Regions from separate parts of the Homo sapiens genome. Here regions 1, 2, 3, 4, 6 and 7 are each linked to region 5. The links are contacts of gene promoters, found by promoter capture Hi-C in blood cells and fetal thymus (Javierre and others, 2016). All regions are on one chromosome and are shown on one strand. The core of a region is centred on a gene start or on the middle of the fragment in contact, and the rest is flanking DNA. Distances in the headings are between cores, read along the strand shown. Region 1 has its middle 200 kb from the start of ARSJ. Region 2 overlaps LOC105377374 (a long non-coding RNA gene). Region 3 overlaps CAMK2D (calcium/calmodulin dependent protein kinase II delta). Region 4 overlaps CAMK2D (calcium/calmodulin dependent protein kinase II delta). Region 5 holds the start of CAMK2D (calcium/calmodulin dependent protein kinase II delta). Region 6 has its middle 94 kb from the start of ARSJ. Region 7 overlaps ANK2 (ankyrin 2).

Evidence for each region. Contacts are between HindIII fragments. The CHiCAGO score rates a contact against its expected background, and 5 or more counts as called.
Region 1: a fragment that was not itself captured here is called in contact with the fragment with the promoter of CAMK2D in region 5 in 1 of 17 cell types (endothelial precursors); the score reaches 5.0 in endothelial precursors.
Region 2: a fragment that was not itself captured here is called in contact with the fragment with the promoter of CAMK2D in region 5 in 1 of 17 cell types (activated CD4 T cells); the score reaches 6.1 in activated CD4 T cells.
Region 3: a fragment that was not itself captured here is called in contact with the fragment with the promoter of CAMK2D in region 5 in 4 of 17 cell types (M2 macrophages, activated CD4 T cells, M0 macrophages and 1 more); the score reaches 8.3 in M2 macrophages.
Region 4: a fragment that was not itself captured here is called in contact with the fragment with the promoter of CAMK2D in region 5 in 2 of 17 cell types (total B cells and activated CD4 T cells); the score reaches 6.5 in total B cells.
Region 6: a fragment that was not itself captured here is called in contact with the fragment with the promoter of CAMK2D in region 5 in 2 of 17 cell types (total CD4 T cells and non-activated CD4 T cells); the score reaches 6.9 in total CD4 T cells.
Region 7: a fragment that was not itself captured here is called in contact with the fragment with the promoter of CAMK2D in region 5 in 1 of 17 cell types (activated CD4 T cells); the score reaches 6.0 in activated CD4 T cells.

What each region holds. Positions count from the first base shown.
Region 1 is chr4:114,178,807-114,181,893 of GRCh38, forward strand. No RefSeq gene overlaps it. Among named protein-coding and RNA genes, the nearest start is that of ARSJ, 200 kb to the left of the region's middle. The HindIII fragment of the contact is 668 bases long and covers 1,264-1,931 here.
Region 2 is chr4:113,387,581-113,390,305 of GRCh38, forward strand. LOC105377374 (a long non-coding RNA gene) reads right to left here. Exons shown (of 5, transcript NR_199847.1): 5 at 1-870. Among named protein-coding and RNA genes, the nearest start is that of MIR8082, 240 kb to the left of the region's middle. The HindIII fragment of the contact is 2,369 bases long and covers 281-2,649 here.
Region 3 is chr4:113,479,427-113,482,474 of GRCh38, forward strand. The region is part of intron 16 of CAMK2D (calcium/calmodulin dependent protein kinase II delta); the gene reads right to left. Among named protein-coding and RNA genes, the nearest start is that of CAMK2D, 280 kb to the right of the region's middle. The HindIII fragment of the contact is 7,236 bases long and covers 1-3,048 here.
Region 4 is chr4:113,496,866-113,499,874 of GRCh38, forward strand. The region is part of intron 16 of CAMK2D (calcium/calmodulin dependent protein kinase II delta); the gene reads right to left. Among named protein-coding and RNA genes, the nearest start is that of CAMK2D, 260 kb to the right of the region's middle. The HindIII fragment of the contact is 2,636 bases long and covers 69-2,704 here.
Region 5 is chr4:113,760,432-113,763,206 of GRCh38, forward strand. It overlaps CAMK2D (calcium/calmodulin dependent protein kinase II delta), which reads right to left and starts at 1,307. Exons shown (of 21, transcript NM_001321571.2): 1 at 573-1,307. The coding sequence starts at 637. RefSeq lists a silencer at 1,094-1,503 and enhancers at 1,497-2,035, 2,036-2,574. The HindIII fragment of the contact is 14,700 bases long and covers 1-2,775 here.
Region 6 is chr4:114,072,436-114,075,418 of GRCh38, forward strand. No RefSeq gene overlaps it. Among named protein-coding and RNA genes, the nearest start is that of ARSJ, 94 kb to the left of the region's middle. The HindIII fragment of the contact is 1,497 bases long and covers 957-2,453 here.
Region 7 is chr4:113,358,398-113,361,272 of GRCh38, forward strand. ANK2 (ankyrin 2) reads left to right here. Exons shown (of 46, transcript NM_001148.6): 38 at 1-902; 39 at 2,426-2,500. Among named protein-coding and RNA genes, the nearest start is that of MIR8082, 210 kb to the left of the region's middle. The HindIII fragment of the contact is 574 bases long and covers 1,221-1,794 here.

The DNA.
Region 1 (3,087 bases), core at 348-2,847, 420 kb after region 5:
AAAGAAGGTGGAATAACAAATGTGATATGTGGAAGAATGGAAGAGACCAAAAAGGTTTCCTTACTAAGGGGAAACAAAGTTGCATATTGGTAAAATGTTGGTCAGCTAGGGGAAGAGAAGAATTAGCAATGAATGACAAATTATGCAAAATGAATCTAAAAAAAGAATTATAATTCACCAATAGAATACGAAAAGCTTCTCAGTTACACATATGATTAGGAAGATGCAAATAAAGCCACAATAAAATGTTAGTTTGAAACTACCAGGTTAGCAGCAATTATTTTTACATTTTATTATATTTAGTGTTAATAAAGGTGTGGAGAAACAAATATAGCTATACACAATTGGTGGAACATTAAGTTAATCCAATTTTTGGAGAGAAATCTGGCAATATCTATTAAAATTAAATTTTATATCCTTTGATAAACAATTTCACCTTCAGAAATGTAACCTTAATACAAAATGAATTTGTATGAATTTAAATTTGCGTTGTCTGTAAGTACAAAAAAATTGGAACAATTTAAATGTCTGTTAGAAAAGTTGATATTCTAATGATGTCAATTCTAACCAAAGTAAAAGATGGGAATTGAGATAGGATGTTATTCATGTAATAATTGATGGAAAGACTAATAGAACTAAATAGAGAGTCCAGAAAACCTATGTTTACGTGAAAATATAATTTATTTAGAAAAATTTCATGTAGGTGAGAAAAGTGTGAGGTATTCAATTAGTGGTAGAAAGACCATTGATTGTCAACTTGAAATAAAATAGATAAAGTTACTACATTTCATTGATTCTAACACTACTTCTTTTCATATTTAACATTTCTGAAATTTCTTACAGTTGGTGGAGAGTCATAGTTTAATTGGAAGCATTTTCTTTTCTTTCTTAGAAGTATATAAATTAAAATAATACTCTTAGAGTCCTATATTTAATAACATATGGTAGATCCCTACTTAACACAATAGAGGAAAATTAATTACACACACACACACACTCGTACATGCATAACAGATGTAAGCAAAGGTGAAAACACAGTAATTTTTATTTATAACTGAGAAGTTTGGATCTAGGCCGCAATTCTAATAGAAATTACAAAGGCTTTACCTGGCCATGGTAATGGGTAGAAAGCTGCCCTGCACAGTTCAAGCTTGGTGTATAATTAGTGCATTGCTGTCTCTGGAGGGAGTTGCATTGGAGGACTCAGCCTCCCAGCACCTCCCCTACCCCAGTGATCATGCTCATAGGTATTCCTGCATTCCAAGCTTAAGTGCCTCCATTCAGAGGCCTTCTTATTGGAAGATGAGGGAGGATGTCTGTTCAGACCCTTTTCAGGTGCCTCCACTGCCTATTTTTTGGAAGGGGGATGAGTGTCCTTGAATGAGTGTCCTCCTAAACTAAAAACCTGTACTGCACATTATTGTACTGAATACTGCAGGCAGTTGTAACACAACGCTAAGTATGTGTGTATCTAAACATAGAAAAGGGGTAGTAAAAATACAATATTATAGTCTTATGAGACCACTGTAGTGTACACGGGCTATCATTGATAGAACTGTCATTCTGTAGCACACAACTGGATATCTCAAATACAGTCAATAATTTAATTTTCTCATTTTTCTCAGAATTCCTGCTTTAATACTGCCATAAGCACTTGCTTTGTCTGATCAAGAATTAGTTTAGCAGGGTATACCTTGTGAGCAGGTTGGGGTGGTTCATCTGAGTGTGCTAAGAGAGTCCGTCCAGCATTCTGTTCAGGGATACTCTAGTAGCTGTGAAATTAAAAATGTTTGCTCAGTTGCTGCTAGGAAGGTCGACCTCCTCCCAGACTTCTGAGTCATGAGCCCTCTTGTGGGACGCAGCAAGTAGGGGCTGCGTCCAATGATGCTGCCATCTGCTGGCGTTGACTGCCCCATTTTCTCTGGCATGGAAGCTTCAGACATGTTTCGGAGCCCTGTGATCTTCAAGGACTAAATAGGGTTCACTCAAAATGCAAGTTGGGCTGACTCTGAGCAGAATAGGGAGAGAAAGGAACTGTCAGATTGTGCTTGGCCAGCTATTTCTCAAGGATGTTAGAAAAAATACTTTCAATATAATTTTTGGAAGATAACATCATTCATTTGCATAAAACAAGATGAACAAGACTAATTTCTAATTTGACAATTTGCTGTCCACAGAATTTTTCATTACTTGAATTATTTTATTTATTAAAAAAAAATCTCATCTCAAGAACTAGAGCTAGAATGGCACATAAAGAGGTAGCCTGGAGTGACTTTTACAAGAGTAAATGTTTTTCCAGTACTATGTTTGATTAATTACATTAGTCTAATAAGTTCAATTTCCTATCTACTGACTTTGATGTTCAGAATTATACTGAAGTTATCTGTTCAAAGACTGGTGATTAGCACAAGAAATTGACTTTATAATGGTTCAAATCTTTTGAAGGGCTAAATTGTGAGTTTCCCTAGAGGTATAGATTAACTACAGAATTGTTATTCTGAAATGCCAATTACTTTTCCACAAAAAATTATCAAAATGAACACATACATGATCTCTGTCTATCCCATCTATGCCTGCTTTCTCTTTGACTTACTCAGGTTCCTAATGGAGAAGAAAATGCAGCCATCAACATTGGCTTCTTTCTGGCTTGGTCCAAGCACATAATTTGTCCACATTGGACTCTCCACAGTTTATGAGTTCCAAGTCAGTGCTCAACACCCCTTGCCTCTCAATTTTCAGTTGAACTGAATGAAATGAAAAATAACTTCTCATAAAAAGGATGGGGATTGACTGAGGACTCTCTCAGATATTTTGACAAAAATTCATTCCTCAAATAGAGAACTACAGTATTCAAATTTTTTATTCAGTATAATTGAGTAACCCAAATGGTGGAAAAATAGTCACAGAGAAGATAATAAGGGTAATTATCTTATTACAGAGAAAACATATACTATGTAAAATTAAATTATCTTTAAAATATCTGGAGAATATATATAATACAAACTTTGTTAAAAAGAAGGAAACACTTATTATTCATCCCCCACACTCAGAGAGACGTACAGAAAATCATACTCAATTCTTTCCTTG
Region 2 (2,725 bases), core at 215-2,714, 370 kb before region 5:
GTATTGAACGGGGAAAAGCAGGCTGGAGGAGGAAAAGGAAGGGTATGATCACACTACTAAATTCACATGCTGCAAGGGAAAAGGAGCAGGTAGGGGAATACTCAATTATGTATTCGTTTGGCACTCAGTAAATTGGCGCTTTACATAGAGTAGCTACCCGTGGGGATTTTTAACCTTTTATTGTAGCTATCTGCTTAGAAACAAAAGGAAAGTCAGTGTCTTGCTTGACTCAGCTTTCAGCTTAATTTTTTCCTTGTGGCATAGTGCATTGGGGGTCCCAAGCTTTTATTTTCCTTTCACACTGAGGAGCTACTACTGCTACGAAGAAATCCACCAGTGCAGAAATCAGAAATCCAAGCTGCCACTGAAGGGCTCAGATTCATGTAGCAGCAAAGTATATGTTTCTTAGGAGATAGCCCATATATGGCTGCAAAAACACTCCATGTGTCTTCTGCCAGAGTCCATGCACCTCTCCCCAGCTGCTCCCAAAGGTATAATCATTTTTCTTCTCTTTCCTTTTCAAATCTTGGGCAAACAACTTTCATCGGCAAAATCAAATACATAACCCCACTGGAAAGGGATTCCAAAAAATGTATACCTGAGGCTCTTCCCCCAACATGCAGGGAAGAATGTAGAATAGGTCCAAAATAATGCTCAGCTGCTAACAATCAATCACAGTGGCTAAGCCAGAGAATAACAGTCTTCATCCATCCACAAATGCATGCAATTCAAGACCTACTATATTTTAAACATTGTGCTATAGTGCTCAGGGTAGACTGGGCCAAGATCATGGCCCAATGGGTCACTTTTGCTGAGTTTTCACTATTGCCAGTTACTATTCAATGCTCTTCTTTCATCTCCATCACAATCCTAGGAAACAGATCCAGGTGAGGAAACTGAGGGGAAAAGAAATTGAATAACATGCCCCAAATCATGCAGAGAGAAAACGACAAAGCTGGGATAAGAACTCAAGCAAATGGCACCAACAATAAACAACACTCCATCTTTGAAAAACACAGACCCTTCCCTTTGGATTTATAATCTTGCAGCAGAGACATATTGAACTGATCATTTAACAATTAATTAAAAATTACTTTTCTTCCGGAAAAAATTCTTCTTCTTCTGGAAAAATATATTTATAAAGGGAAACAGACCTTATTCAGTAACTTTGTCATTACTATTCTGAAAAATCTCTTTCTTGCTTCTCAAGCCCATTTTCTCTTCCTTATCTGCTTCACATTTGGCAGATGAACTTGACGCTGTTTTATAAGAAAGTAGATGTCAATGGGCATGAATTACTACAATGCTATATTAGGGTTCTCTGGAAAAACAGAACCAATAGTGTGTATGTGCCTGTGTGCATGCATGCCTGTGTGTGTGTGTGTGTGTGTGTGTGCACACATATATAAAGAGATTTATTGTAAGGAATTGTTCCACATGATGATGGAGGTTGAGAAGTCGCAAGATCTGCACTCAGCAGAGTGAGCAGAGCTGATATAGATTCAGTCTGAAGGCAGGCTTGAGATCCAAGAAGAGCCAGTGTTTCCGTTTGAGTCTGAAGGCAAGAAAACTAATAGCTGAAGGGCAGTCAAGCAGAAGTTTTGTCTTAGTTTCTTTTATTTTCTTTTTGTTGTTGTTCTATGTAGGTCTTTGATTGATTGGGTGAGGCCCACCTGTATTAGGGAGGGCAGTCTGCTTTACTCAGTTCACCCATTCAAATGTTAATCTCATTCTACAAACACACTCACAGACATACCCAGAATAGGGTTTAACCAAATATCTGGGCACCCCATGACCCAGTCAAGTTAACACGTAAATTAGCCATCACAAATGCCTTTTCTATTACTACCTCCAAAATTGTCTGTATTTACGTGAACCCTACTACTCATTGTTCTCACAAAGAATGCTCTCTTGTCTCCTGGATTTATGGCCTGTGTCCTTGCTATGGTCTAAATATTATGTTCAAAATTCGTATGTTAAAATCACCCTTGCAATGTGATGGTATTAGGAAGTGAGGCCTTTGGGAGGTGATTCATATGTTGAAATCCTCCACCCTCAACATGATAGTATTAAGAGGTGGGGCCTTTGGCAGGGCTTCACCTTCATGATTCGGATTAGCATCCTTATAAGAGAGACCCCAGAGAGCTAGCTAGTTACTTCTGCCATGCGAGGACACAGTGAAGGTGCCATCCATGAACTGGAAAATGGGCCCTCACCAGACACCAAATCTGCTGGCATCTTGACCTTGGATTTCACAGTCTCCATAACTGTGAGAAATAAATGTCTATGTTTACAAGCTGTCCAGTTTATGGTATTTTGTTACAGCATCCCAAACGGACAAAGACATTCTTGCTGTCCCCTCCCCATCTCCTGCGGCCTTGCTCTGTCATGGTGTGCTCACTGATGATGGCTTTCTCTCCCAGCCTGTGAGCACAGCTTATGAGAAAAATAGATTTATCCCTGAATCCTGTCTTTACACCTAACTAATGCTCTCTTTCTCTCTCTCTTTTCCTTTGCCTTTTTTTCTACATATGCTTTCCTAGTTTTTCATTACTCAATCTTCCTGCAGTGTGGCTTCAAAAAATGCTGAACAGTAAACATATTAGAAACTATGAGATATGGCTAAACAGAGGTCAGAAGAAAACTAAAAGCTTCAAACTAGGGTTCTAATTCCTGTGCTGAGAGTAGCCAGACAGGAAAATAATATGTGAATTGTCTGAACATA
Region 3 (3,048 bases), core at 215-2,714, 280 kb before region 5:
TTAATAAGTACAAAATATGTCTCAACTCAGAATTAATGTAGAAACCTCATAATTAATTCATTAATCTATTAAGTGCCTATTATATGGTACTATGGAGGCCAAAAGTAGTGAACTAAAATACTTTAATTGTTTAAAATTCATAATGAGTTAAAAGAACACCGTCATCTTCACAAACACTTTAAAAAAACCATCAGTTTCGATTTTAAAGCAAAAATGAACTTGTTTTCTGCACTTGGGCAGCTTTATGTAGTTTGGGTATTTATGCACATAGGTTGGCTGGATGTGGGTCTTAACATTTATACCTACTTATCTAAAATAAATGTTTCAGAAAATAGAAACGATGTTTAAAAACACACACACAGTTCTCTCTGGATTTATGGACTGTTTTAAATCATGGGCCAGGAATTATACTAGGCATTTAATAGATTGTATCACTATTCAACATGAGTATGCTCTCTTATTGTTATTATTATTTTCAGGTTGAGCCATATGAAATTACTTTTGTAGGTAAAAAATGGTTAGGTATTGACATATTATTATTATTTTTGTTTTAGAGATGGAGTCTAACTCTGTCGCCCAGGTTGGGGTGCAGTGGCGGGATCTTGGCTCACTGCAACCTCTGCCTCCCGGGTTCCAGCAATTCTCCTGCCTCAGCCTCCTGAGTAGCTGGGACTACAGGTGCATGCCGCCACACCGGCTAATTTCTTTTGTATTTTAGTAGAGACAGGGTTTCACTGTGTTGCCCAGGCTTGTCTCGAACTCCTGAGTTCAGGTAATCCGCCCGCCTCGGCCTCCCAAAGTGCTAGAATTACAGGCGTGAACTACCGCACCCGGCCAGCATTGACATATTATTATCCCTATTGTACATATGACTCAGAATGGTTTACATGAGCAGTCAGAATGCATATTCAATGGAGAGCTGGGCTGGGATTCAAATCTAGTATATTTGACACCAAAGCGCGTCCTCCATTCCAATAGGAAAAAACATCCTATGACTTAATGCTATGATATGAATGTATGCGTCCCTACAAAGTCCATGTTGCACCTTAATACCAAACATTGATGGTATTAACAGGTGGGGCCCTTGAGTGGTTATTAGAAGGGGACTAGTGCCCTTATAAAAGGGCTTGAGGGCCGGGTGCAGTGGCTCACATCTGTAATCCCAGCACTTTGGGAGACCAAGGTGGGCGGATCACTTGAGGTCAGGAGTTCGAAACTAGCTTGGCAAACATGGTGAAACCTTGTCTCTACTAAAAATACAAAAATTAGCTCTGCACGGTGGCGGGTGCCTGTAATCCCAGCTACTCGGGAGTCTGAGGCAGGATAATTGCTTGAACCTAGCAGGCGGAGGTTGCAGTGAGCTGAGATTGTGCCACTGCACTCCAACCTGGGTGACAGGGTGAGACTCCTCTTCAAAAACAAAAAAAGGGCTTGAGGGATTGGCTAGTCCCTTCCATTCCTTCTGCCATGTGAAGACACAGCAAGAGGTGCCATTTTTAAAGCAGAGAGCAAGCGTTCACCAGACATCAAGTCTGCTGGCACCTTGATCTTAGACTTTCCAGCCTCCAAAACTGTGAAAAATAAATTTCTACTATTTATAAATTACCCAGTCTGTGATATTTTGTTATAGCATCACAAATGGACTAAGACACTTTTAAAACATGCATTTTCGGTGTTTTTAACTCCTAAATTATGGAGCGAGGTAATTATATGTACAAAAACCTACACAGAAAAAGTTGTAAACTGATCACAATTTCAGGAGAATTCCGATCATTTTAGTGGCTGCTAGGACATGTCATGGTTGGTATCCACTATGCTTCCTTCCTCTACCAATTAAATATTTATTATTCCCACTATTGCCCAACACTATTCTAGATACTATGAATATGGCTATAAACAAAACAGACAAAAATCTCTGCTCTACAGAAACTTACATTTTAGTAGGGGGAAGAGGAACAGGAAACAAGTAAAATAGATATTTCAGATAATAAATATAAAGAGAAAAGTAAAACAGGAGAATGGGGAGTGCTGGATTTGGAGGGATGTAAATTTTCATTTTATTTTATTTTTTGAGACAGAGTCTCACTCTGCTGCCCAGGCTGGAGTGCAGTGGTGCCATCTCAGTTCACTGCAACCTCTGCCTCCCAAGTTCCAGTGATTCTTGTGCCTCAGCCTCCCAAGTAGCTGAGATTACAGGCATGCACCACCACACCTGGCTAATTTTGTTGTATTTTTAGTAGAGATGGGGTTTTGTCATGTTGGCCAGGCTGGTCTCAAAAACTCCTGGCCTCAAGTGATCTGCCTGCCTCCCAAAGTGCTGGGATTACAGGCATGAACCACCATGCCCAGTCTGGAGGGATGTAATTTAAAATAAGGTAGTAAAAGATCTCACAGAGAGGGTAACTTTTGATAACATTTGGTCAGAGACTTAAAAAGAGAAAGGGCAGTAAGCCACATGGAAATGTGTATCAGGACATACCAGACATGGAATAGTAAGTGCAAGGCCCTGTGGCAGGAACCTGCTTGATACATTTCAGAAACAGTGTTCCTGATGCACATATAATAATAGGACATTAAGTCAGATGGCAAGGCAAGGCATGTCTGAAGGAGCCCTGGTCATGGTAGGCCTTTTAATAGATTCTGATGTCTTTGGCAGCCACTGGAGAATACAGAGCAAGAGCAGCACATGATCTAATGTATTTTTGAAAGTGTAACTCTATTCTCTGTTGAGAATAGACTGTAAGCAGAAGCAGGTCAATGGCTAAGAAGCTATGTCAATAATATCAGCAAAAGATGATTATATCTTAAGTTAGAGTGATGGCAATGGAGTTGGTGAGCAGCAGTCAATTCCAAAAAAAAGTGTGCATTTTGAAGAACTAGTAGGATTTTCTGAGACCGCATGTGGGGTATAAGCAAAACTAAGGAGACAAAGAAATTAAAAGAAACTGAGGAGACAAAGAAAGACTAAGGATGATGATGAAGGTGTGTTAAAAGCACTAGAATATAACATAGTCATATCAATTCAGTTTTCTTAGATGCATTTGAACA
Region 4 (3,009 bases), core at 137-2,636, 260 kb before region 5:
GCTGCTCAAGAGGTCAACACTAGGGTGTCAACACATTGCCTTGGAGAAAGAAAACAATGAACTCTGGAAGCTTTTTAAAAAGAAGAGTTGTAAAACAATGCCAGTCCCTTGGGATGATTACGAGCTTGGGAAGAAAAATGTGGTTAGAGCTAAATGTTGAAGGTTTTTAAGAAAAAGGAAATAAAAGAACTTTTAGATTTAAAAAAATGTATTTATTTTGGGTCTCACTTTTTTCCTGGGTTTCACTGAGTTTTTTTTTTTTTAGGTAAAACATGCATATATGTTGGGTTTCACTAATTTTTCTTGATAGTTATTGTATTAAGTAAGATAAATGGGCCTACATTATAGCATAACAAGATTCATATAAAGGGTAGGAAACAGCATTTTGACTCTGGTGCATTCAAATCTCTTGAACATGGCTAGTTCAAAAAGAGAAGCACATGGAAGTCAGGTAAAGAGAAGGGATTCAATAAATATTTGCTGAATGAAGAAACAGCCTAGACACAATTCAAAAGTATTACACAGACTGGGGACATGATTTCTCAATGGAAACTAATTAGAAGAGCTGAAGGAAAATGGGCCTTTAAATCTTGGCTTTCTAAGGTGCTCCAGACTGAGGAACCATTAATCTCTGACTACTTTTGCTTTCTTTTATCTTTCTTTGAGAACAGCTGGCCTTGTCTGCCTTTTCCCATTCAAAGACGCCAGAAAGAAAAACTTTGTTGTTAGTTTACCTCATTTCTTCCTTTGACCGGGTTACCACAGTGTTTAATCCCCTCCTCCAGCAACTCCATGTTTCTTTACATTGGAGAGGACACAGAAGCTGTCCCTGCCAGGTTAGTCCTTGGGGATGGGGCAGAATGTGCACTGCCTTGGTATGGGAGGCATGTGACATGGTATTCAAGGAATCATATACCACCATAAAACAATGTAAGTCTAGGTGCTGGTGTTAGATGCACTATAGCTGGGACAGCCAGCAGCAATGGGTAGAGCAAGTGCTCGCATGCAGAAGTATGTATGGGGGTATGCCTTTAAGAATATGTCAAAAAGTGTGGTGTCTCACTGATCACAATGTTGTCTACAGAAAAGAGAAGGTTGAAAAGTATGTGTGTGGAAGACACAGTTTTGTAGATATGACATGGTTTTGTAGATGGGATACAGTTTTGGTCAGATTATTTAACTGATAGTAATTGTGAGTTCTTGGATGTTAGTTATAGAATGTTAGATATAGGTAAATTTTGGTTTCAACAGAGCTGGACAATAAACACATTCCCTACCAAGCTACTGAGAGCCACAGCAATTCTAAAGTAAAAATAAGAGAGCATAATTATTCACATATAGGGTCTTTCTTGAGGACCATGCACTGATAAATGGAGAGATTCCCACACAAACAGATCATCAGCATAATAAATAATTTAAAATCACTTAAGACCATTTTATCTACCACTTGTCCCAGTAAAAATGATGGGGCCTAGGCAATCTTTCAAAGTGTCTTCTAGTCTTAAAGGTTTCTGATATCATTCAATATTAAAAGGGTTAGTCTCCAGAAGGCTGTCTGGGTCTTACAGAGAACACAAATGAGTCCTAATGGGCTATGGTTATGACATTTTTGGCCAGATCCACACCAGCAAAATTAAGCAGAAACTTAAATAATGTATTTATTAAGGTAATAAAGCTAAGCACTTTGGGTTAAACGATCAACTGGACATTTCTTTTGATCTCAATATGATGCTGAATTCCTCTAATACTTGTATACAGACTCAATGTAATTATAAATACAAATACTATCTCAATTTATGAAATCCCAGAGGCAAGATGAAACCCATATCATTGTTATGATTTGAATTGGAGAACTGTTTTCTAAGAACTGATATTATTATTTCATTTTATCAAAAATAAATTACAAACTACAAGGTAACACTGACAGGAACTCTGTTTATACATTAATGTTTACATAGATTAATAGCAATGATCCTGAACCAATACTTAGTACAGTTGAGTGCCAAATTCAGGTGAGAAAGACCACTTATTAAAACCCTTCTCATGATTACGTTCCTTGGCAGATGAACTGCATATAGTAAGGTGCTGGTATTCTCCTAATTTTATTTGGTTATTTAAAGATTCAGTTTCTCCAGTGGACAATGAACAAGTTTTCTTAGTCTTGCTCAAGGGAAGAATGTGAAAATTCATATGAAACATTTAGCTTAGCTTAAAGAGCTAATGAATCCAAAACACAAAGATAATGCTTCCTGAATCAGTGGGAAAGCTAAATGGCATATCTATTTATTTGGCTAAAAAAAAAGAATATTTTTATCTAATATGACTGGTATCAATGATTCATAAAACTACTTCAGTTCAAATTTTAGCTTAAGTGCAAAGAGTGAGATGAATAGACCTACTAAATAAAATTCTTGACACAGCTATCTACCTTTCCACTGTAAAAAATGACTGACTACCTCTAGCAGAGTTAGGTCAGTGTGCTTAGTTATATAAATAGAGAGTACACTTTAACAGCATCAGCTGTTCTATTCAAACAAAAAGGAAAAAGTCAGCAGAGCTGACTGCCAAGTTGTGATCTACAGCCATTTTTATTTCCTAAATTGACCCCACGTCTCCTTGACCTGAGAATTTCCAAATCCTTTATTCTAAAATATGAATACAACTTTACAAGACTTTATTGTATTAACACTACCTTTAGAATTAAAGCTTATGGTGATACTATTAGGTCAGTAATCTTTTCAGATGAGGTTTAATTAATTTATGGATCATTGCTCCCAATTTATATTTCTTTTCCTTTAATATTTCTGTTTCAAATATCCTACTGTTACCGCTGTTTGTCAGAATATCTTCTAGACAACTGGTCTATAGAGACTGTAGTTATATATAATGAATTACAAAAACAACATAAAACTGCAAATGCAATTGATACAAAAGTAATACTTCTAAAACAGTGATGTGGCCAAAGGAGGTGACCTAACTGCAAATGTGTGTTCAGTATGTGTGTGCAGG
Region 5 (2,775 bases), core at 57-2,556:
TTGGGTTCTGTTGGGTGGCCCTTTTCCTGGACAGAACAACTACTGGATGCGAAATAGACTCTATGCCAAGTTGAACTTTCGGCATCAATAAATATGGCACCGTCTGAGGCTGTGAGTTCTCATCAGTACCTGGGTCATACGGCCGACACGCCGGCTAACCAGGAGGCATCTCTATTTACAGAAAACATGATCTATGTTGCATTTTACATGGGTTCTAATTTCCTCTCCAAACACACATTACACACAGGCGCGCGCGCACACTTCTCAGGATGATAGCTACAACTGCAGAGATCGTAAATTCACTAAGTCTCTCAGTGCAGGAGGGTGGGGGACCGGGAGAAGGTGGGCTAGGGACCATCAAAATGAGCCACAGTTGGAGTAAGGGTCCTACCCCTTCTGTGCTCCCTCCCTTTATTAAGACAGCACCTTCCCCAGAGCTGACAAACCAGGGGCCCTCCTCCCATTCCTCTCCCAAACTCCCTCGCCCCAAGACGGAGGCCGGTGGGTCGGGGGCAACGCGACCCGCCCTCAGCTGGAAAGGGGATATGCGGATGCCGGGCAAAGGTGCTTACTTTCCAAGCTCCTCGAAAAGCTGATACTCGTCCGTGAACCTGGTGCAGGTTGTGGTCGAAGCCATCCTCGGTCCGGGCTGTGCCCTGGCTGGGAGCGCGACGGACCAGAAGCGAGCAGACGCGCGGCTAACCCCGGGACTGGCCCCGCGGCGCTGTCACCCAGGGCCGCTCTTACTTTCCTGGTCCGAAAGTAGCTCGCCCGCGAGGGAGTGTGCGCAGGGGCGGGGCGGGAGGGGAGATGACCAGAAAGGGTGGCGTGGGGTCTCCTCCCCACAGTCCGCCGATCCTCCTCCTCCTGCGGGCCTCGCTTCCTTCTTCTCCACTGGACGCTCCACCCGCCCCTTTTCCAGTCCCTGTCCCCAAATGCAGGGGGTAAAGTACTCAAGAAGAGGGGGCCGGGAAATGGAAAAACAGCCAGGCACGGGACGAGTGGCAAGCAGTTGCGAAACGATCCGCACTGGAGCAGGAGGAGTAGAAGCAGAGGGGAGGGAGTCCGAGGGGGCGGAGGTGGAGTGCAGCGGGGCCGAGGCCGCGGAGCCCAGAGCGGACAGCCTGAGCCCAGCGGCCGCTGTCAGCAGGCTCAGGCGCGGGGCGCGCCGGGGCTCCGACGAGCGTGCGCGCCCGAGGCCGGCTTCCCTCCGGCGGGCGGCAGCGGCTCCGGCGAAGCGAGGCACCTTGGCGGCCTCGCGCTGCTCACGAGCCCGCGCGGCTTCAAGACGGCGCGGCGAGAGAAAGAGCGCTCGGCTCAGGCGAAGCCTCTTCTGCCGTCCCCAGGCCTCCGTCTCCTCCTCCGGCGCCTCCTCCCGCCGCTCCCTCCGCCTGCCAGCACCCCCTCCCTGGCGAAGCCCCCTCCTCGCTGGTCCCACACCTCCCTCTAGCGACTCCAAGCCTGTCCCTTCGTGGATCTCTCGCACTCCCTCCTTTGGTTGCACACACGAGCACACCAGTCTAGGGAGAAACCAGGTGGGTGGAGGAGGATGTGCGGGGGAGAAGACTGGAGGTTTGGGTGAATGAGGCGAGAAGTCACAGTTACCCATTTAAACCCGCACAGAGAAGGCTGCCTCAATCTGGGGCTGACTGAGCGGGAAGATGCAGGGCAACTCGAGGATGGCCCGGGGCAGCCGCCCTGGGTCGCGGAAGCCCACGCCCCTGTTTTGGGCGCCGGGCAGCAGGGACTTCTCCAGGCCGGTTCCCGGGCCACGACACCCGGTGGGCCGAGCAAGGGAGAGCAACCACTTCATCTCCACGCCGCTCAGAGTTGACACAGCAGGGGCCGGATGTGGGCTGTTCACTGCTCTCAGAGAAGGGTCCCAACCCTTCCCACAGCCACCAGCGACTGTCGGGGCAAAACCCAGCCTCAGCAGGGTTCACTGCGTCGCCAGCTCCCCAGAACCGGGCGCAGGTTTTCTCCCTCCCCCGCAGCCCCTTCTGCAAGGGGCAATGACGGCCCCTGAGCCACATTACACTTGCCACCTCCAGGCCCACCTCCCCCGCTGTTTTCCAGGATGGTGGCTGAGACTCTGGCAATCCCCAAAGGCCTTTGCTTTGGCTGTGAACGTTAAAAGAATGAAAGCAAAAACTCCGCCGCACAACCACACCTTCCCTTCCCTTCTGAGTAACTCCCCTGCAACCTCAGTAAGTTCTGATAGTAAGGCGAATTCTCGCGATATTTCCCACTCTGGCGGTCAGGGGGAGGTAGTAGGAAGGCTGGGTGTCGGTCACGCGACCCGGCGGGGGCTGACGTCATTCACATCACGTGAACACGTCTAGACTGTTTCGCTTTGCAAAGGGAAAAAAGAAAAGGGGCCGTCGTGTGTGCTTTTGCTTTCAGCCAGATAGTGGCAATTGAGTGCACTCCGTAAATGGCTATCTGGAAAAACCATTTAGCAGTTCAAGAATGTGTCCTTCCCTTTAGCATATCTGCCATTGTTTTCAGTAGGAGGAAAAAAAAAGTATGCATTACGATTTAAAATAGATAAACTGCTGCCGATTGCTAGAACAACTTCTGGGCCCTCTTTCCAGTTCTCCTTAATGAAACTATGCAATTGCAAATTTAGCCGCAGACCAAAAACAGCGTTATGGACGGTCTTTTTCAAATTACTGCCAATTGTTCTACAGCACGGGACTATAAAAACCTTGCAATCCTATTGCTAATTTGCTCGTGGTATTACTTCATAGACAAAATTTCACAGCTGAAAGATAA
Region 6 (2,983 bases), core at 455-2,954, 310 kb after region 5:
AACATAGCCTACAGACTCTATAAAACAACTACACAATAAAAACTACAAAGCAACTGGTAAAAAATACCACAAGAAAAAAAGCTCACATATCACTATTAACCTTGAACATGAATTACCTAAATGCTCCACTTAAATGACATAGATTGGCAAATTGGATAAAAAAAAACAAGATCCATCCTTCTCTTGTGTTCAAGAGACCCATTTTACATGTAATGACACCCCCAGGCTCAAAGCAAAGGGATAGAGACAGATCTATCACACAAATGGAAAACAGAAAGGAGGAGTGGCCACTTTTCTTATATTAGATAAAGTAGACTTTAAACCAACAACAGGAGAAAAGAAAACAAGAAGGCATTACATAATGATAAAATGTTCAACTCAACAAGAAGACTTAATTATCCTAAATATATATAGACTCAAATTTGGAGGGCCTAGACTTCTAAAACAATGACTTCCAGACGTAAGAAAAGATTTAGACAGTTACACAATAATAGTGGGGAACTTCAAAACCTCACTGACAGCATTAGACAGATCACTGAGGCAGAAAACTAACAAAAAATTCTGGGCTTAAATTCAAGACTTGACCAATTGGATCTAATAGAAATCTACAGACTATCCCACCCAACAACCACAGAATACATATTATTCTTATCTGCACATGGAACATACTTTAAGATTACCACCTGCTCAGTCATAAAGCAAGTCTTAATAAATTTTAAAATATTGAAATCATAACAACCATCTTGTAAGACCACAGGGAATAAAAATAGAAATCAATACCAAGAGTAGCTCTTGCAGCCACACAAATACATGGAAACTAAACAAGTTGTTTCTGAGTGACTTTTTGGTAAACAACAAAATTAAGGCAGAAATGTAAAAATTCTTTGAATCAAATGAAAATAGAGGCACAACATACCAAAACCCCTGGAATGCAGCAAAAGCAGTGTTAAGAGGAAAGCTTATAGTGCTAAAAATGCCTACATCAAAAGATAGAAAGATCTCAAATTAACAACCTAACCTCATATCTGAAGAAAGTAGGAAAACAAGAGCAAACTAACCCCAAACCTAGCAGAAGAAAAGAAATAACTAAAGTCTGAGCAGAACTAAATGAAATTCAGACCAATAGAATCATACAAAGTTTCAATAAAATAAAAAGTTGGTTGCCTTTTGAACGGATAAACAAGATTGATAGACCGCTGGCTGTATTAACAAAGAAAAAAAGACAAGAGATCCAAATAAGCACAATCAGAAATGACAAATGTGACATCACAACAAATCACACAGAAATACAAAAGATCCTCAGAGACTACTATGAACATGTCTATGCACACAAACTAGAAATTCTAGAGGAAATGGATAAATTCCTGGAAACATACCACTTCCTAAGATAGAACCAAGAAGAAAATTAAATTCTGAACAGACTAATAACTATTAATGAAATTGAATTGGTAATAAGTAACCTACTAAGCAAAATAGCCCTGGACCATATGGATTAATAGCCAAATTCTACCAGATGTACAAGGAAGAACTGGAAACAATCCTACTGAAACTAGGATAAAGGGGGAGAAACTTCTCCCAACCTCATTCTGTGAAACCAGTATCATCCTGATACCAAAATATGGCAGAGACACAACAAAAAAGAAAACTATAGGTCAATCCTCTGATGAACATAGATGCAAATATCCTCAACAAAATACTAGCAAACTTAATCCAGTAACATATCAAAAAGTTAAATCACCACAAGCCAGCTTTATTTCTGGGATGCAAGGATGGTTCAACATAGGCAAATCAGTAAATGTGACTCACCATATAAAACAAATTAAAAACTAAAACCATATAATCATTCAATAGATGCAAGAAAGCATTTGACAAATCCAAAATCCTTTCATAATAAAAACCTTCAACAATCTAGGCATTGAAGAAACAAATCTAAAAATAGTAAGAATGATCTATGAAAAACCCACAGCCAACATCATACTGAATGGGCAAAAGCTGGCAGCATTCTCCATAAGTACTGGGAAAAGACAAGATTTTCCACTCATTACATAATAGTATTCAACTTAGTATCGAAGAGCTAAGCCAGAGCAATCAGGCAGGCAATACAAATAAAAGGCATCTAAATACAAAAAGAGGAAATCAAATTATCTCTCGTCACTGACAATATGATTCTTTATCCATAAAACCCTAAAGATTCTGCCAAAAGACTCCCAGCCCTGATAAATGAATTTGGCAGTGTTTCAGGATACAAACTCAATGGATAAAAATCAGTAGCATGTCTATACAACAATAATGTTCAAGCTGAGAACCAAATCAAGAACACAAAACCACTTACAGTAACCACATGCAAAAATAAAATACCTGGTATTACATTTAACCCAGGAGGTGAAAGACTTCCACAATGAGGAGTAGAACATACTGCTGAAAATATTATAGATGACACAAACAAATGGAAAAGCTTATGGATTCTATGCTTATGGATTGGATGATTCAATATTGTTAAAATGTCCAAGCTGCTGAAAACAATCTACAGATTCAATGCTTTTCCTGTACCTAGTTCAAAAGTAAACCAAAAAGAGACCATTGAAATAAAGCCACACATTGGCCAGGCACGGTGGCTCACACCTGTAATCCCAGCACTTTTGGAGGCTGAGGTGGGAAGATCACATGAGGTCAGGAGTTCAAGACTAGCCTGGCCAACATGGTGAAACCCTGTCTCCACTAAAAATACAAAAATTAGCCAGACATGGTGGTGGATGCCTGTAATCTCTGCTACTCAGGAGGCTGAGGTAGGAGAATTGCTTGAACCTGGGAGGCAGAGGTTGCAATGAGCCAAGATCATGCCATTGCACTCCAGCCTGGGTGAGAAGAATGAAACTCCATCTCAAAATAAAATAAAATGAAATGAAATGAAATGAAATGAAATGAAATGATGAAATGAAATGAAATGAAATAATGAAATGAAATGAAATGAATAAAATAAAAT
Region 7 (2,875 bases), core at 258-2,757, 400 kb before region 5:
ACTCACCAGGTCTGTTTATTCAGATAGGGGTGATGATTCTCCCGATTCTTCCCCAGAAGAACAGAAATCAGTAATCGAGATTCCTACTGCACCCATGGAGAATGTGCCTTTTACTGAAAGCAAATCCAAAATTCCTGTAAGGACTATGCCCACTTCCACCCCAGCACCTCCATCTGCAGAGTATGAGAGTTCAGTTTCTGAAGATTTTCTATCCAGTGTAGATGAGGAAAATAAGGCGGATGAAGCAAAACCAAAGTCCAAACTCCCTGTCAAAGTACCCCTCCAAAGAGTTGAACAGCAGCTCTCAGATCTAGACACCTCTGTCCAGAAGACAGTGGCTCCTCAGGGACAGGACATGGCAAGCATCGCACCAGATAATAGAAGCAAATCTGAATCTGATGCTAGTTCTTTGGATTCAAAGACCAAATGCCCAGTAAAAACCCGAAGTTACACTGAGACAGAAACAGAGAGCAGAGAGAGGGCCGAGGAACTTGAGTTAGAATCAGAAGAAGGGGCCACAAGACCAAAGATACTTACATCCCGATTGCCAGTTAAGAGCAGAAGCACTACATCTTCCTGCAGGGGGGGCACGAGCCCCACAAAAGAAAGTAAGGAGCATTTCTTTGACCTTTACAGAAATTCCATAGAATTCTTTGAGGAGATTAGTGATGAGGCTTCCAAATTAGTGGATAGGCTGACACAGTCAGAGAGGGAGCAGGAAATAGTTTCAGACGATGAAAGTAGTAGTGCCCTGGAAGTATCAGTAATTGAAAATCTGCCACCTGTTGAGACCGAGCACTCAGTTCCTGAGGACATCTTTGACACAAGGCCCATTTGGGATGAGTCTATTGAGACTCTGATTGAACGCATCCCTGATGAAAATGGCCATGACCATGCTGAAGGTATTTGCCAGCCACCGGGATTCCCTGTGCTACGCATGTCATAAAATTGATATAGTTTTTTTGTATGTTTGTTTTATTTGATGATTTGTGTCTCATTTTCTTTAAGCTTTCTGTAGTGGCTAATGTGTTTGTGTAAGCCCTTTGTGTTTTGTGCTTTCTCTGTATACTCTTGTCTAAGAAAACAATCTCAAGATTGAGTAATGAGAATGCTTATGGAAAACATAAACATAATAACCGGGCAACAGTGATCTTGCCTTTTTTAGCCTCTGCACGTAATAAGGCCATGCGAGCTTTGAGTTTTGTTGTTCTGAAGTCCCAAGCTTAGACTCAAATTAAGCACTTTTGCACATAAATATATTGTATTTTGTTTCATAGTATGAAGACATTGCTTTTCTTCTTATCTTCGCATACTTTAAAATAATTTGTACTTACAATTTTGTAATCATTAGGAAGCCATTTGCTTGAGAAGATTTCACATAACATGAAATTCTAATTGTTGTGGATCTGTTTTTGATTCAGAAAGGTTGGATTTCAGATACCATTGGTAAATACTTTAAGCAAACAAACCTAAGGTAAAAATATGCTTTTCATTTATGTGGTAGATGAATGGAGAATGTACTCTCATTAGATGCAGCAGACAACAAAAACTCAAACTTTGCACAGTTTAAGTTGACTGTGAGGGGATGATGGCTCTTTGACTTATAAAAAAGGAAACCATAGATGGCTTTGAAAAGTAGCCTGTGTTCTTCCAATATCTCTACAATGAAGACTGTCATTCTTAAATTGAGGTTATACAAACTTTCCTATACCATGGTCTAAAATGCTGCCTATCAATCAGTGGGAGTTAAACATGAATGGGAAAATTATAGTTTATAGGAGTGAGTAGTATATAAGCTTAATAGCAAGAAGGCAGAAACTTTGCCCAAAAGACATATATGCATACAGATACAATATACACATAAAAATGCATATGCTTTTATCCTCGTTTCTCCAAGGTCACCAGGACCAAATGTTGTTTCTGGCCACACTAATCAGGATGGCCTGATCAGCTCATGATCAACATCTCTTGTGAATCTCTGATGTGATTCCTTTCAGACATGACCTGGAAATGATCTATCCCTCCACAAGCAATAATAGGAGGTCCTAGCCAATTGCTCTACTTCTGCATCCCATTTATGATTTCTCTGGTGTTTCATGAACAAGATGGTGGTCTTCTTGGTGGGCAGTATTCTCTCCAATAATTTAAAAGTCATAAGATTACTAGAAATCAGCAACTTATATAATTATGTCTAGAACTAGTCTTGATTAAAGAGATATGGAAGCAGATGGTTTTCATGATTCATATTAGATCTATTCCCCATTCCACCCCAGAAATCAGACACACAATATGATCTGAAATGTAGTATCTAGTTTGTGCTTTCAAATATTTGGAGAAGTGACTTCCTTTCTTTGAATGAATCAGTACTGTGGTTCCTCTCCTGTCATAGACAACCTTTGGCCATTCTGTTTTTGACCTTCTCCAGATCCACAGGATGAGCAGGAACGGATCGAGGAAAGGCTGGCTTATATTGCTGATCACCTTGGCTTCAGCTGGACAGGTAAAAAGAATGTGACCCAGGTTTTCAACAAAACCTGACATAGATGCATCAGTCAGGTGTCATTCACAGCATAAAAGGTACCCCCCACTTTCTTGAGAAAGAATACATGAAAAGAAGAATAAACTAAGAACTAGAAAACCTGGGCTCTGCATCAGCTAATGGTATAGCCCAGGGCAGGCCTTTTATCATCTCTGAAATTTAGAATAATAGAACTTTCTATTTGAAGATTTAGAGAATATACCAACATTCAGGAACCTCTGTTGGCAGTTGTGGATATCTAAATTTGGGGGAGATTATTATGTTTCAAAATCATTTTTAGATGTAATTTTTATCAAATTTAATGTGAGATTTAACCAGGGCTCCTTCTTTTAGATA